Linked DNA regions of Homo sapiens: region 1 is linked to region 2. The links are contacts of gene promoters, found by promoter capture Hi-C in blood cells and fetal thymus (Javierre and others, 2016). All regions are on one chromosome and are shown on one strand. Each heading gives the region's core, a stretch centred on a gene start or on the middle of the fragment in contact. The rest is flanking DNA. Distances are from core to core; before and after follow the strand shown. Region 1 overlaps CC2D2A (coiled-coil and C2 domain containing 2A). Region 2 holds the start of FAM200B (family with sequence similarity 200 member B).

Region 1 (6,894 bases), core at 3,960-6,459, 200 kb after region 2:
AAATATAGAATTTTTCAGTTTTTGCTTTTTATTTTCTTTTCATTGTGATCAGATTTAAGTTGTCATCAGCTTAAAATAACTGGTTATAAGATGTTATTTGCAAGCTTCATGGTAATCACAGAGCAAAAACCTATGACAGGTACAAAAAAAAAAATTTTTTTAACATACTACTGGAGAAAATCACTTATACACTAAGAAAGACAGGAAGAAGGCAGAAAGGAAGAGAGGACTAACAAAACAACCAGAAAACAAATAAGAAAATGGCAGTAGTAAGTCCCTCCCTGTGAATAATGACGTTGAATATAAATGGACTAAATTCTCCCATCAAAAGACATAGATTGGCTGAACGGATGAAAAAGATTGAAAAAAAGAGCCAATTATATGCTACCTATAAGAAACTCATTTCACCTGTAAAGATGCACATAGACTGAAAATAAAGGGGTAGAAAAAGTTATTCTATGCAATGGAAATGTAAAAAGAGCAGGAGTAGCTGTATATGTATCAGATAAAATAGATTTCAAGACAAAAATTGTAAAAAGAGACAAAGAAGGTCATTATACAATGATAAAGGGGTCAATTCATCAAGAGGATATAATACTTGTAAATACATAGGCACCCAATACTGGGACACCCAGATATATAAAGCAAATATTATTAGAGCTAAATCCCAATACAAGTCTCCCATTAATAATAGTTGAGGATCTTAATACTCCCGTTCAGCATTGGATAGATCATTTAGAGAGAAAATCAACAAACTAATATTGGACTTAATCTGCAAATAAAACAAATGAAACTAACAGATTTAAAGAACATTTCATCCAACAGCTGCAGAATACACATTTTTCTCTTCAGCACATGGAACATGCTCAAGGATAGACTATATCTCAGGCCACAAAACAAGTCTCAAAAAATTCAAAAAAGTTGAAATCATATCAGGTATCTTCTCTAACCACAATAAAATAAAACTAGAAATCAATAACAAGAGAAACTCTGAAAACTCTACAAATTCATAAAAATTAAACAATACACTCCAGAACAACAATTGGGTCAATGATGAATTAAAAAAATAAAAAATTGACTGGAACAAATGAAAATGGAAACACAACATATGAAAACCTATAGGGTATAGCAAAAGCATTACCGGAAGGGAATTTTATAGCAATAAATACCTACGTCAAAAATGTAGAAAGATTTTAAATAACCTCACAATGCATCTTAAAGAAACAGAAAATCAAAAGCACATCAAAACTCGAAATTAGTAGAAGAAAAATAATAAAGATCAGAGCAGAAATAAATGAAAGTGATACTTAATAAAAAGTAGAAAAGATCAATGAAATGAAAAGTTGTTTTTTGAAAAGATAAACAAAATTGACAAAACTTTAGCCAGATTAAGAAAAAGAGAAGACCCACAGAAATAAAATCAGAGACAAAAATGGAGACATAACAACTGATACCACAGAAAATCAAAGGATTATTAGAGACTATTATGAGCAACTATATGCCAATACATTTCTTCTAGAAAGCTAGAAGAAATGGATAAATTTCTAGACATATACAACCTACCAAGATTGAAACATGAAGAAATATAAAATCTGAATAGACAAAAAACAAGTAATGAGATAGAAGCAGTAATAAAAAGTGTTTCTCTTCAAAGAAAAGCCCAGGACCTGATGGCTACCCTGCTGAATTCAACAAAACATTTAAAGAACTATTATTAATCCTACTCAAACTATTCCAAAAATCAGAGGAGGGAATACTTCCAAACCTATGGTACAAGGGCAGTATTATCCTGATACCAAAACCAGACAAAGACATAACAACAAAAAACTTTACAAGCCAGTATCTCTGATGCACACTGATGCAAAAATCATCAACAAAATACTAGCCAACTGTATTCAATAATAAATTAACAACATCATTCTTCATGATCAAGTGGGATTCATCTCAGGGATGCAAGGATAGTTCAATATATAAAATCAATAAAGTAATACATCATATCAACAGAATGAAGGAAAAAGGACATGATCAGTTCAGTAGATGTGAAAAAATATTTGCAAATTACTCCTCTGAAAGGGGACTGATATCCAGAATATACTAGGAACTCAAATATCTCAACAGATAAAACATAAATAATCTCATTAAAAATAGGCAAAAAACATTGATAGACATTTCTCAAAAGAAGACATACAAATGGCCAACAGGTATACGCAAAAATGCTCAAATTCACTAATCATGAGGGATATGCAAATTAAACCACAATGAGATATCTTACTCCAGTTAAAATGGCTTTCATCAAAAAGACAAAACAGATGCTGGCAAGAATGCAGAGAAAAGGGAATGCTTGTATACTGTTAGTGAGAATGTAAATTTGTACAGCTGTTATGGAAAACAATATGAAGTTTCTCAAAAAACTAAAAATAGAACTACCCTATGATCCAGAAATGCCACTGCTGGGTATATATCCAAAAGAAAGGAAAGCAGTATATCAAAGAGATATCTGAACTCCTATTTTTACTGCAGCACTATTCACAACAGCTAAGATACGGAATTAACCTAAGTATCCATCAATGGATAAATGGATAAAGAAAGCATGCTGCATATACACAATGGAATATTATTCAGCCATAAAAAAGAATGAAATTTTGCAGTTTGCAACAACATGGATGGAACTGGAGGACATTATGTTAGTGAAGAAAGCCAGGCACAGAAAGACAACTAGTACATGTTTTCACTCATATGTGGGAGCTAAAACAATTGATCTGATAGAGATAGTGAGTAGAATGATGGTTACCAGAGGCAGGACCCTGTCTTGAGCATTTGTTGTTATGCCCATGGCAGTTTTTCAATATATGTTTATCAAGCTCCAAATATTGCATTGGGGAATAAGCAATGAATACAGCAGACAAAGTCTTGATCTCAGGGAGCTTTCCTTCTAATGATCAAGATAGTCAGCTGATTGGAAAATGCCGGGAGGTGATGAGTGCTCTGAAGGAAAGTAGAACCAGCTGAGAGGAAAGAGGGCAGAGGTGGGAAAGGGACATTCTAGATAAAAGATCAAGGAATCCCTGTCCACTCTCCACCTCTCCCCAACCACCAGATCCCTGTATCCATACATCCATGTCCACTTGGATATTCAGCAGGCATCTCAACTTTGCATGTCCATTCAATTTCTACCTTCAAACCTGCCCTTTCTGCCATCTTTTCCTTCTCTGAAACTCTATTGGGGAAAGTGGAGTTACCCATTTTTGACTCAAGTCAAAAACCATGGAGGCAACCTTCCTGCTTTCATAATTCTTGTTCAATCGAGAAATATACCTGTTCGTCTCTACCTTCCAAATACCCAGATTTCCCACACTCTTTCCACCCCTTCCACTACCCGCCAGTCCCATTCCCCAATAACTCCCACCTGGATTTTTGCTGTTGGCCTCTACCTGGTCTCTGTGCTTCTGCCCTCACTCCTTCCAAAGTCTACTCAGCACAGCAGCCGTCAGCCTTAAATCTGATTATATCAGTCCTGGGCTTGAACCCTCCAATGACGCTCATCTCATTCGGATTAAAAGTCAAAGGGCCCACTAGGCTGGGTACAATTCCCCTCCTCCCTTCTGATTTTATTTTTTTCCTTTTCCTTGTTGTTCACTCTCCACTGCCCTTGCCCCCTGGCTGTTGCTTAATGTCGCAAGCACATTCCTGCCTTAAGACCACTGCCTGGAACATTCTCCCCTTGGGGATCACTCATTTCCTTTCATAAATGCACCTCATCCTCTCACTCCCACTGCAGTCCTGCCAGCTTATTCTTTATCTTTCTCTTCAGGACTTCTCACACCTGCTGTACTCTATGTTTATCTAGTTTACTTCATTTGTTTTTCTCTTTTTTCCTCTCATCCCTCCCACAACTGGAGTATAAACTCTGTGGCAGTGTTCACGCAATCTATTATTGTCCCTGTTTTACAAATAAGGAAACTAAAGTTTAGGTAGGTCGGAGAACTTGCCCAAGGGAGTAAGATAGGTAGAGACTGGTACCCACTCTTGTCTAAGCCAACGCCCATGGTCTTAACTGCAACAGCTCAATTGTGTTTCAATCACAAGCTTAATAAAGACACAATCAGAGAACTCTCTTAAAGTGGGAACCAAAGCCCAGAAATGCTGAGATGGTCACGAGGCATTCAGAGGCCAGTAAGGAGTCAACCAAAGTGGAGCACACTGGAAAACACTGGAAAATACAACCGGAAGGAGCCCAATTGCATAGATCCTTAGAGCCCGGAATAAATAAGAGAGTGTGGATTTTATGTAATGTAATATAATAGATTTCTGAGTAGAAAAGTGAGATAAAGAGGAGTTTTAAAGAAAAATTAATGTGGTAGTAAAAATGTCCATACATTCTTTGACACTCCTTCTTTCAAAAGAAGGAGGCTGATTTTCCTTCCCTTAAATGTGGGCTGGATTTAGGGACATGCTTCTAACAAATATGTCGAAAGGACTGATAGGTGATTTCTATGACTGGGTCATAAAGCACATGGCTGCTTCTATCTTGCTCTTGACCCTCTCCGTGTTTTCTACACATACATCTGTGTGTTTCCAAGACCTGAATTGGGAATCCTCCTCACCCTACAGTTCCCCATGCAGACTCCTCCATATGTGGAGGCTCCATTCTTCTGTCACCTCCCTTGCTATCCTTGCCTGCCTAGGGCAGTCCAGCACTCTGTTGTTTCTGCCAGCACTCATCATTCCTTTTTACTTGTCTGTCTCCTGCTCTAATGCCACTGGTATAATAATACTTCCTCTGCTCTCTTGACTTTGTCTGCTGGCTTTGACTTCTCATTTCTGACAGATGCCTGGCTCCACAGACTCCTTATCCACCATATGCTCCACCCCTCACTGCTGGGGATGTTTTCTCTTCGTCTTGGTTTATCAGTGCTGCCAATTCATCAGCAGCTTCCAGCTCCACCCAGGGCTTCCCAGACACTGGATGGTCATGGTGTGGCTCCAGTAGGCAGGTCTCAGCCTTCTGTTCATTCCATACCTCTCCATTCCCCAATTCAGAAATAGCGCTTTTTGTGGGGGAAGGGACTAATGCATAGATCATCTCCATGGTGACAGTGGACAGTATCTTCTTCATTTTCGAGTTAGAAAATAATCCACTTTTTATGTCACAGAGCCTTGACTGGTGGCCACCTCTCCTGGCAGTCTTTCCCTTGATTTTAAAATAAATAATTAAATATCCAGTAGTTGTGCTAAGGACTGAATTGTGTCCCCCCTCTGAAAATCTGTATGTTGAAGCCTTCTCCCCCAATCTGACTGCATTTAGAGATAGAACCTGTAGGAGGTAATTAAGGTCAAATGCGATCATAAGGGAGGGGCCCTGATAGGATTAGGATTAGTGTCCTTATAAGAGGAGACAGTAGAGCCTCTCCCTCCCCCAGTGCAGGCACAGAGAAGAGGTCATGTGAGCACACAGCAAGATGGTGGCCACCAACTAGCCAGGAAGAAGGGCCTCACTGGAAACCGGCCATGCTGGCACCATGATCTCAGATGTCCAGCCTTCAGAGCCATGAGAAAATAAATGTTGGGTGTTTAAGCCCCCCAGTCTATAGTATTTTGTTATGGCAGCCTGAAATGACAAGTTGTAATCTTTGGTAGTAATAAATAATTTTGAGCATTTAGAAAAAGAAACAGCCATATGAGATAAATTTTGGTTCTGTTTTTATTAATTCATAACAGCTCTCATTGTATCATTGCTTTTAGATTAGAACCACATTTTTCCAATCTAAGAGTCTACTTGCTTCCAAAGGCCTCTAGTTTCCAACAGTTACTTATTTCCCAACTTTGCCATAGGGAAAACAGTCTAACAATTATGTAACAATTAAAAAGTGTAACCACTTCTCCTCTTGTCTAATCCACTTTTCATGAAAAGCAATGCCTGAAGGGTGGTCATTTTCCCTACAATGAGCAGGTAATTCCTAATGTTCATTGTACTGGGGAAGAAGAAAAGGCGTGTGTAGGGGGAGAAGTATATGTGTCCTCAATGGCAAGGTCACCAGGAGCCTCAGAAACCTCCCTCATTTCTTCCAAACATCTGATTCAAGCCTCACTAGGTTAACACATATGTCTTCCCTAACAATTTCATCTTCCTTTGAGTTTCTGCATATTTAATTTCCATTCTAATTAACACTCCCTAACTTATGTATTGTTAGTCCATTTTGCATTGCTATAAAGGAATATCTGAGACTGGGTAATTTATAAAGAAAAGAGGTTTATTTTGGCTCACTGTTCTGCAGACTGTGCAATAAGCATGGTGCCAGCATCTGCCTCTGGTGAGGCCTTAGGAAGCTTTCACTTATGTCAGAAGGGGAAGGGGAAACAGGTGTGTCGCATGGTGAGAGAGGGAGCAAGAGAGAGGGGAGGAGGTTCCAGGCTCTTTTTTGTTTGTTTGTTTTCTGAGATGGAGTCTTGCTCTGTTGCCTAGGCTGGAGTGCAGTGCTCCGATCTCGGCTCACTGCAACCTCCACCTCCCAGGTTCAAGCAATTCTCATGCCTCAGCCTCCCAAGTAGCTGGGATTACAGGCATGCGCCACCACGCCTGGCTAATTTTTTTGTATTTTTAGTAGAGATGGGGTTTCTCCATGTTGGTCAGGCTGGTCTTGAACTCCCAACCTCAGGTGATTTACCCGCCTCGGCCTTCCAAAGTGCTGGGATTACAGACGTGAGTCACCGTGCCTGGCCTGCCCAGGCTCTTTTTAACAACCAGCTCTCCTGTGAGTGAACAGAGCAAGAACTCACTCATTACTAGAGGACAACACCAACCAATTCATGAGTTGTGCCCTCATGACCCAGACACCTCCCACTAGGCTCCACCTCTAACATTGAAGGTCACATTTCAGATTTGGAGGGGACAAA
Region 2 (6,417 bases), core at 479-2,978:
TGGATCATTTATCTCTTAGAAGCAATTGTCTTTTAACTATTCCATTCTTTCATATTCTTACTATTCACGTTTCAATCCCCCCTTGAAAGTTTGTAACACTAGTTCAGTTACTATTGTATTAAAAAGATATTTTTAAAGGGTTTACTCTCCCTCCTAAATCAGACAGTTCATCTATAGTAACAGCAGTGGCAGTATATTAGGGAACAGGTCTGGTAGATGTGGTGATGAAAGCATGGGGAAGTTTTTTTTTAACTCAATAGGATGTGAGGTATCATCTAAGTAAGAGGCCGAAGTAGAAAATGTTGCAAGTTTGTCAGAAGAAAATATGAAATATTAATAATTGTTAAGGAATGTGATAATATGATGGACTAGGAAAATGTTTTTGGATTTTTAGTCTGGCTGGTTGTCTTACTTGCTTAATGCAATGATTGTTATTGTTACAATGCTTGATAGTCTAAAATTCCCCGTCACTAATCTTTTATATCCTAAGATATATCTCTAGTGCGCTGTATCATCTTCTGAAAATACAGCTCTAATCAGCTTCCTCATAACTGGAAAAGCATTTAATGGCGCCGAGCTTGTGTAAGCTCTTCAGGATAATATCCTTTAAGCTTAAGCCTCATCTTTCCAGGTTTCTCCTTCATCACATGATCTCCATACATTCTACATTTCAGTACTAAAAGTATGGAAATTCTTGAAATAGTTCATGCACTTTCATGTCTCTGCTTTTGGCTAGTATTCCTTTTGCCTGGAATACTCTTGTTGGGTCACATGAAGTCCTATTTATTCTTTTCTACTTAGTTCAAATGCTACAGCAGCCATGCATTCAACTAACATTTAGCTACCTACAGTGCCTAAAGTATGTCAGGCACTGGAGATACTAAACAATGAACAGTGACATATTAAAATAACAGAATATCTGTTCAGCTATTAAGATGAATAAGGTGGAGTTACACAACACTGACAAATCTCAAAAACATTATGTAAAACAAGCTAGCTGCAAAAAGATGTACACATTACAGATTGCATAAAGGTGGTTAGGAGAGTGGTTTCCTTAGGCAAAAGGAAAGAGAATGAGACGGGGTAGAGCTGACAAAGGACTTCAATCACTTATATAATCATTTATTTCTCCAATTCAGTGGTGAGTACACATGTGTTATAGTTTTGTTTCTACCTTTTTTCTGTCTAAAATCGTCTATTTAAAAAAAGCATCTTTAAGGCTGGATACCTTCCTGAAGGCACTGGAAATCTGTCATACTGCCACTAACTTAAAATTACCTTCCACCTCTTGCATTTCCCTTTGTTTCCTGTTTTGACATTGCGCACACATTAGTTAGTACACTAGGCCTTAAGAGTGGAAACTGCCAGGTACCAGCTTTAGCTAGATTAAAACATGACCCTCTTCCCAGGAGACTCCTGACCGGTTTTCTCGTCCTCCAGGGACCCAGCTAGGATTTCAATGAACTTTGGCCTGAACCCCTCGGCCGACCCTAGAATAATCGCCCTTCAGGCCCGGATTGCTTCTGCTCTCACCTTCCCTCAATTCATACGGGGGGCAAAACCAGACTGTATTTCCCGCAACGAACCCTGGAATGCTTCGCTTTAGCGGACTCCGGTCCACTCCCATCAGAGGATGCCCTTCTTTCGCCTCACCTCCAGCCCAGCCGCAGCGACCCGGCCGGGCCCAGCGCTGCAAGCCTCAGGTCTCTCCAGCAGAGCTGCGCCTCTGCTCTCCCCACACTTCCCTCCGCAACACCACTTCCGGCCTACCTCACAAATTCCCCATTCCAGCCGAAAAGAACTGGATCGGCCCTCTGCGCATGCGTGAGACCGGGGCGGTGTCCGGGGGTGCCGGGAGCGGGCGGTGCAGGCTCCACTTTTCCACTTCCCTACGCTCTGTCGGCAGTCTCGCGGGATTTCCGCCTCTCGCGGGAGTTATTTGAATGCCAGGGCGGTAACGACTCCCTAGGCGCCTGGGGCCCTCTGACAAGAAACCCTAGGAGACACCGCGGAGAACTCTGCCTCTGAGCTGGTGGGCGGGCCGGATGTAGCCGAGCGCGGACAGGGCTAGTCCGGACAGAGTCCCAGAGCCATGGGAGCGAAAAGAGACTGCTGCGGATTAAGGAGGCCTTTCGGTTGGCGCAGCAGCCACACCACAACCAGGCGAAGCAGGTAGTGGCGCTGAATCGCTCCTGCCGCGGGGTAAGCGCTCCCGGCCCGCGCCCGCCCCAGCCCCGACCTGGCGGGGCCAGGACGCTGGTTCATACACTCCAAGGTGATTTTCATAGTCTTTGTGGAAGAATTAGAGAATTTTGAACTTTGATATCATTGCACGTGTTTACTTATTTAGAGAATCGCATTGTGTTTAATAATCATAGTATTCCTGTGCGACTCTTTAGGTTAGCAGATCATTGATTTTTAACATAAAACTGCATTTCATTAAATAGATTTAAATATGTATGTATATTTCTGTCCTCTAATGATTGTAACAAAGCAGATTTCTTGATCATTAACAAGATAGGTTCGTGCAAATAAGTGCATCTTTGTCACAAACCAAATTTTTTTGTGGTTGAGATATATATTTATATATATATGTGAAACAAAAAACATATAAAGGAGAATATATATATATTCTTATATATATAATATATACTGCTTTATTTTTTTGGGTTGACATATATATGTCATATATAGTTTTTTTTTAAATTCTACCTTAAACAGGGAAACATGTTAGATACAGGAGCTTGAATTTCAACTCTGAAACTTAATGCGACTTTATCAGCATTTCTCTTTCTCAAGCTACTTACTTCTTGTAGGATTACACAGTCAAATTTTTAAAAATTTTTGATTCTCCAACTGGATTTTTTTTTTTAATTTTTGAGACGGAGTCTCACTCTCTCGCCCAGGCTGGAGTGCAGTGGCGCAGCCTCGGCTCACTGCAACCTCAGCCTCCTGGTTCAAGCGATTCCCCTGCCACAACCTCCCGAGTAGCTGGGATTACAGGCGACCGCCACCATGCCAGGCTAATTTTTGTATTTTTCAAAAATACAAAGACGGGGTTTCACCATTTTGGCCAGGCTGGTCTCGAACTCCTGACCTCAGGTGATCCACCCACTTGGGCCTCCCAAAGTGCTGGGATTACAGGGGTGAGCCACTGCACCCAGCCTCTCCCACTGGATTTTTAAAGCTGTTTTTTGATTAGCAAATATTTCTTTTACATGGCTCAAACTACATGAAAAGAAATGCAGCAAGAAACACTTCCTCCCTAGTCCCTATCCAGTACCATTCCTAATAGTCTTCACGGGTAATCATTTTAAATTAGTTTCTTGTTTATCCTTCCGGTCTTCATGCAGAGATACAAGCAGATGAGAATATACAGTCTTATTTCACTCGGTCTCTCCTTCAATATTTTCTGCATTGTTCATGTTTTTTTTTTTCCTGTTTTACTGTATATTCTGGATATTCCTCCTTATCAGTATTCAATTAAACTTATTTTTTCCTGTCACATACTCCATTTTGTAGATATACTCCAGTTTATACAGTAAATCACGCGTAGGTGGACACTTGGCGTTGTTTCCAGTCTTCAGATATTAGAAACAACTCTTCAGTGAATACATGTCATTTCTACATTTGCAGGGGTAACTGTCAGATTCTGAAAAGAATTGCTGGATCCAAGAGGAAATGTGTTTGCAAATATGATAGATATTTACAGTTGCCCTTCATAGAGTGATCCATTTTACACTCCTATCAGCAGAGAAGAGAATGAGACATACTGCTTTTTTTTTTTTAGGGGGATTGGAAAGAACAGGAATATAATTGGGATTTTTTGATAGATAAGTAAAATCCTGAAAAGTTTGGGAATATGAGTTAGAATGATAAAACATATAACAAAAATAACTTGTTGTGTGATAAGAAGGCTTAATTTTAAAAAGCAGTATTGAATTGGGACCATTGGGTGTTGGTTTTTTGTTTTTTTGTTTTTTTTTTTTTTTGTTCCTGAACTGTACCTTTAGCATATTTCTCTAGATAGATTCAAGGATATTTAGAAAAATCAAAATCTCTTGTGATCAAAATCTGTGCTTCCTTGCTCCATGACAGAAGCAATTCAAAAACAAGAGACTTGGGTAAATATTACTCAGGTTTATTTTCCTCAGTTTTTTCTACTGGATGGATAATTAATAATTGTTAAAGAGTAGATATTTTAGCCCGACATGGTGGCTCACACCTGTAATCCCAGCACTTTGAGAGGCCGAAGCGGGTGGATCATGAGATCAGGAGATCCTGACCAACATGGTGAAACCCTGTCTCTACTAAAAATACAAAAATTAGCTGGGTGTGGTGGCACGTGCCTATAATCCCAGCTACTCAGGAGGCTGAGGCAGGAGAATCGCTTGAACCCAGGAGGCGGAGGTTGCAGTGAGCCGAGATCACGCCGCTGCACTCCAGCCTGGTGAGAGTGAGACTCCGTCTCAAAAAAAAAAAAAAAAAAAATAGAGATTTTAGTTTGGTGAAAAATTGTTGAGATTTTTGAGAATTATGATAGTGCTAGGGACAGAGACTATTATCAATGTAGTTTGTGAAGGGTTTGTTTTTTATTTCTGCTGACCAGTAAAAGTTTTTTAAGAGGCATTTGTTCATTATATCAATTAAGCTATGATGATCTGCAAATATGAACCAACAGTAGAGTGAGAAACAGAATTTGCAGCAGTTTATTACATCATTTCACCAAACAGAAGGAAGATAATGAGAAAAATGAAGACAGTGACATTTCAAACAAAATGACCTTATAAATATTTTTCTGTAGGCTAAAATAATAAGCTTATAATTAAAAGCTGATTTGTTAAGTAATAATAGCTTACATTTAAAATTATAAGAAACCAATTTTAGGTAAATATACTTAAATTAATGCTCTACCTAGGAAGGAATGCAGAAGATCATTTTGGTCAAAAAGTTGTTGCATTCTTGTTATTTAGCAAATATTTCAGACAAGGACTATTTTGAGACTATGTAAATGTATATTTAGTATACCTATGCATGAAAGTAGCATTGTAGCTTTTCTTCGTTTGCATGAATTGTAACCCCTTTGAGTTATTAAAGCCTTCACTTGGGGAAAATCAAGTGGTCGTTACAATGCCACTTGGGAATAAGTTTTCATTTGTTTTTGTTTCAATACTGAGGTAAACAGCAATGAAGTTTTTGATGTGCCAAATTCTGAGTAAGTTATTGGGAAATAAGCCAGAAAATGCCTAGATTAATAATGTTTTGTGTAAAAAATTAATGAAGCCATTCTTGTTAGATTGAAAGATAAAATTGCAAATGAGAAAATCCAGGCAATCCTGCCTGTTTTGAGACTTAACACCTATGAATAATGACTTGTCCCATAAGTTAAAAGTATGTGCAACTTCATAGTTTTTTGTTTGATTTTTAAATTCACAGTAGTTGAATTATTCCTATTAAATATATAATTTATGAGAAAAGAAAGTATGTATGAAACACACCCACCCGCCCATTTAATGATACATCATTCCAATAGCAATTCCCTGACACCAGCTGAATGTCCTACAATGCAATTCAATTTCGTTACTAATTGCCTGAAGTTAGCACAGTTGCCACACAGGTTAAGCGCTCAGTCCCACAGGACTGCCTCCATTTCAGATGCCAGCCACAAGTCTCAGGTATTCCCAACCTACTTGGACTTCTTCCAGGCTGACTCCATATTTGGGCATTCCCATGACCTACTCCCCAAGTTTGATAATTTGCTAGAATGACTCACAGAACTTAGGAAAGCACTATATTTACTACTACAATTTTTGTGTAAAGGATACAACTTGGGAACAGCCAAATGGAAGAGACACATAGGGGAAGGTATGGAGGACAGAGGGTGCAAAACTTTCATGCCCTCTCTGTGCCACCCTCCCAGCACATTAATGTGTTTGGAAGCCCCTTGAGCTTCCAATGATCAGACATGACTCATTAATCATTAATCACTAGTCACTTATTTGAACTCAGTCTCCAGTTCTTCTCCCCTTGTCAGAGATAGTGAGATGGGCTAAAAGTTTTAATCCTGTAAACACCTAGTTGGTTTTTCTGGTAACCAGCCTCCATCCTGAAGGTACCTAGGGTCCCTCTCTATCTCCCAACCCCTATGAGTCACCTCATTAACATAAACTCAGGCATAATTGAAAGGGATATATTATGAAGTATAAAAGACACCTCCTATTAGGAAATTCCAAGGGTTTTAGGAGCTTTCTTCCAGGAACCAAGGACAAAGAATAAATATATTTTTTATTATACCACAGAAGAGTAATAAGACGAACATATATACCCAGCATCCAAATTAAGAAACATAACATAAAGGTATCTTTTAAGCCTCTTGTGTTCCTTTGTGAATATATTTCCTCTGCTTCCCAGAGGAAA

The links. Contacts are between HindIII fragments. The CHiCAGO score rates a contact against its expected background, and 5 or more counts as called.
Region 1: a contact is called between a fragment that was not itself captured here and the fragment with the promoter of FAM200B in region 2, in 1 of 17 cell types (M1 macrophages). The highest score is 6.3, in M1 macrophages.

Annotation. Positions count from the first base shown.
Region 1 is chr4:15,481,053-15,487,946 of GRCh38, reverse strand. All of the region lies in intron 4 of CC2D2A (coiled-coil and C2 domain containing 2A), which reads right to left. Among named protein-coding and RNA genes, the nearest start is that of CC2D2A, 15 kb to the right of the region's middle. The HindIII fragment of the contact is 2,241 bases long and covers 4,089-6,329 here.
Region 2 is chr4:15,677,138-15,683,554 of GRCh38, reverse strand. It overlaps FAM200B (family with sequence similarity 200 member B), which reads right to left and starts at 1,728. Exons shown (of 2, transcript NM_001145191.2): 1 at 1,654-1,728. It also overlaps a transcript of FBXL5 not described here. RefSeq lists enhancers at 1,459-1,508, 1,519-1,758, 1,929-2,228. The HindIII fragment of the contact is 4,207 bases long and covers 614-4,820 here.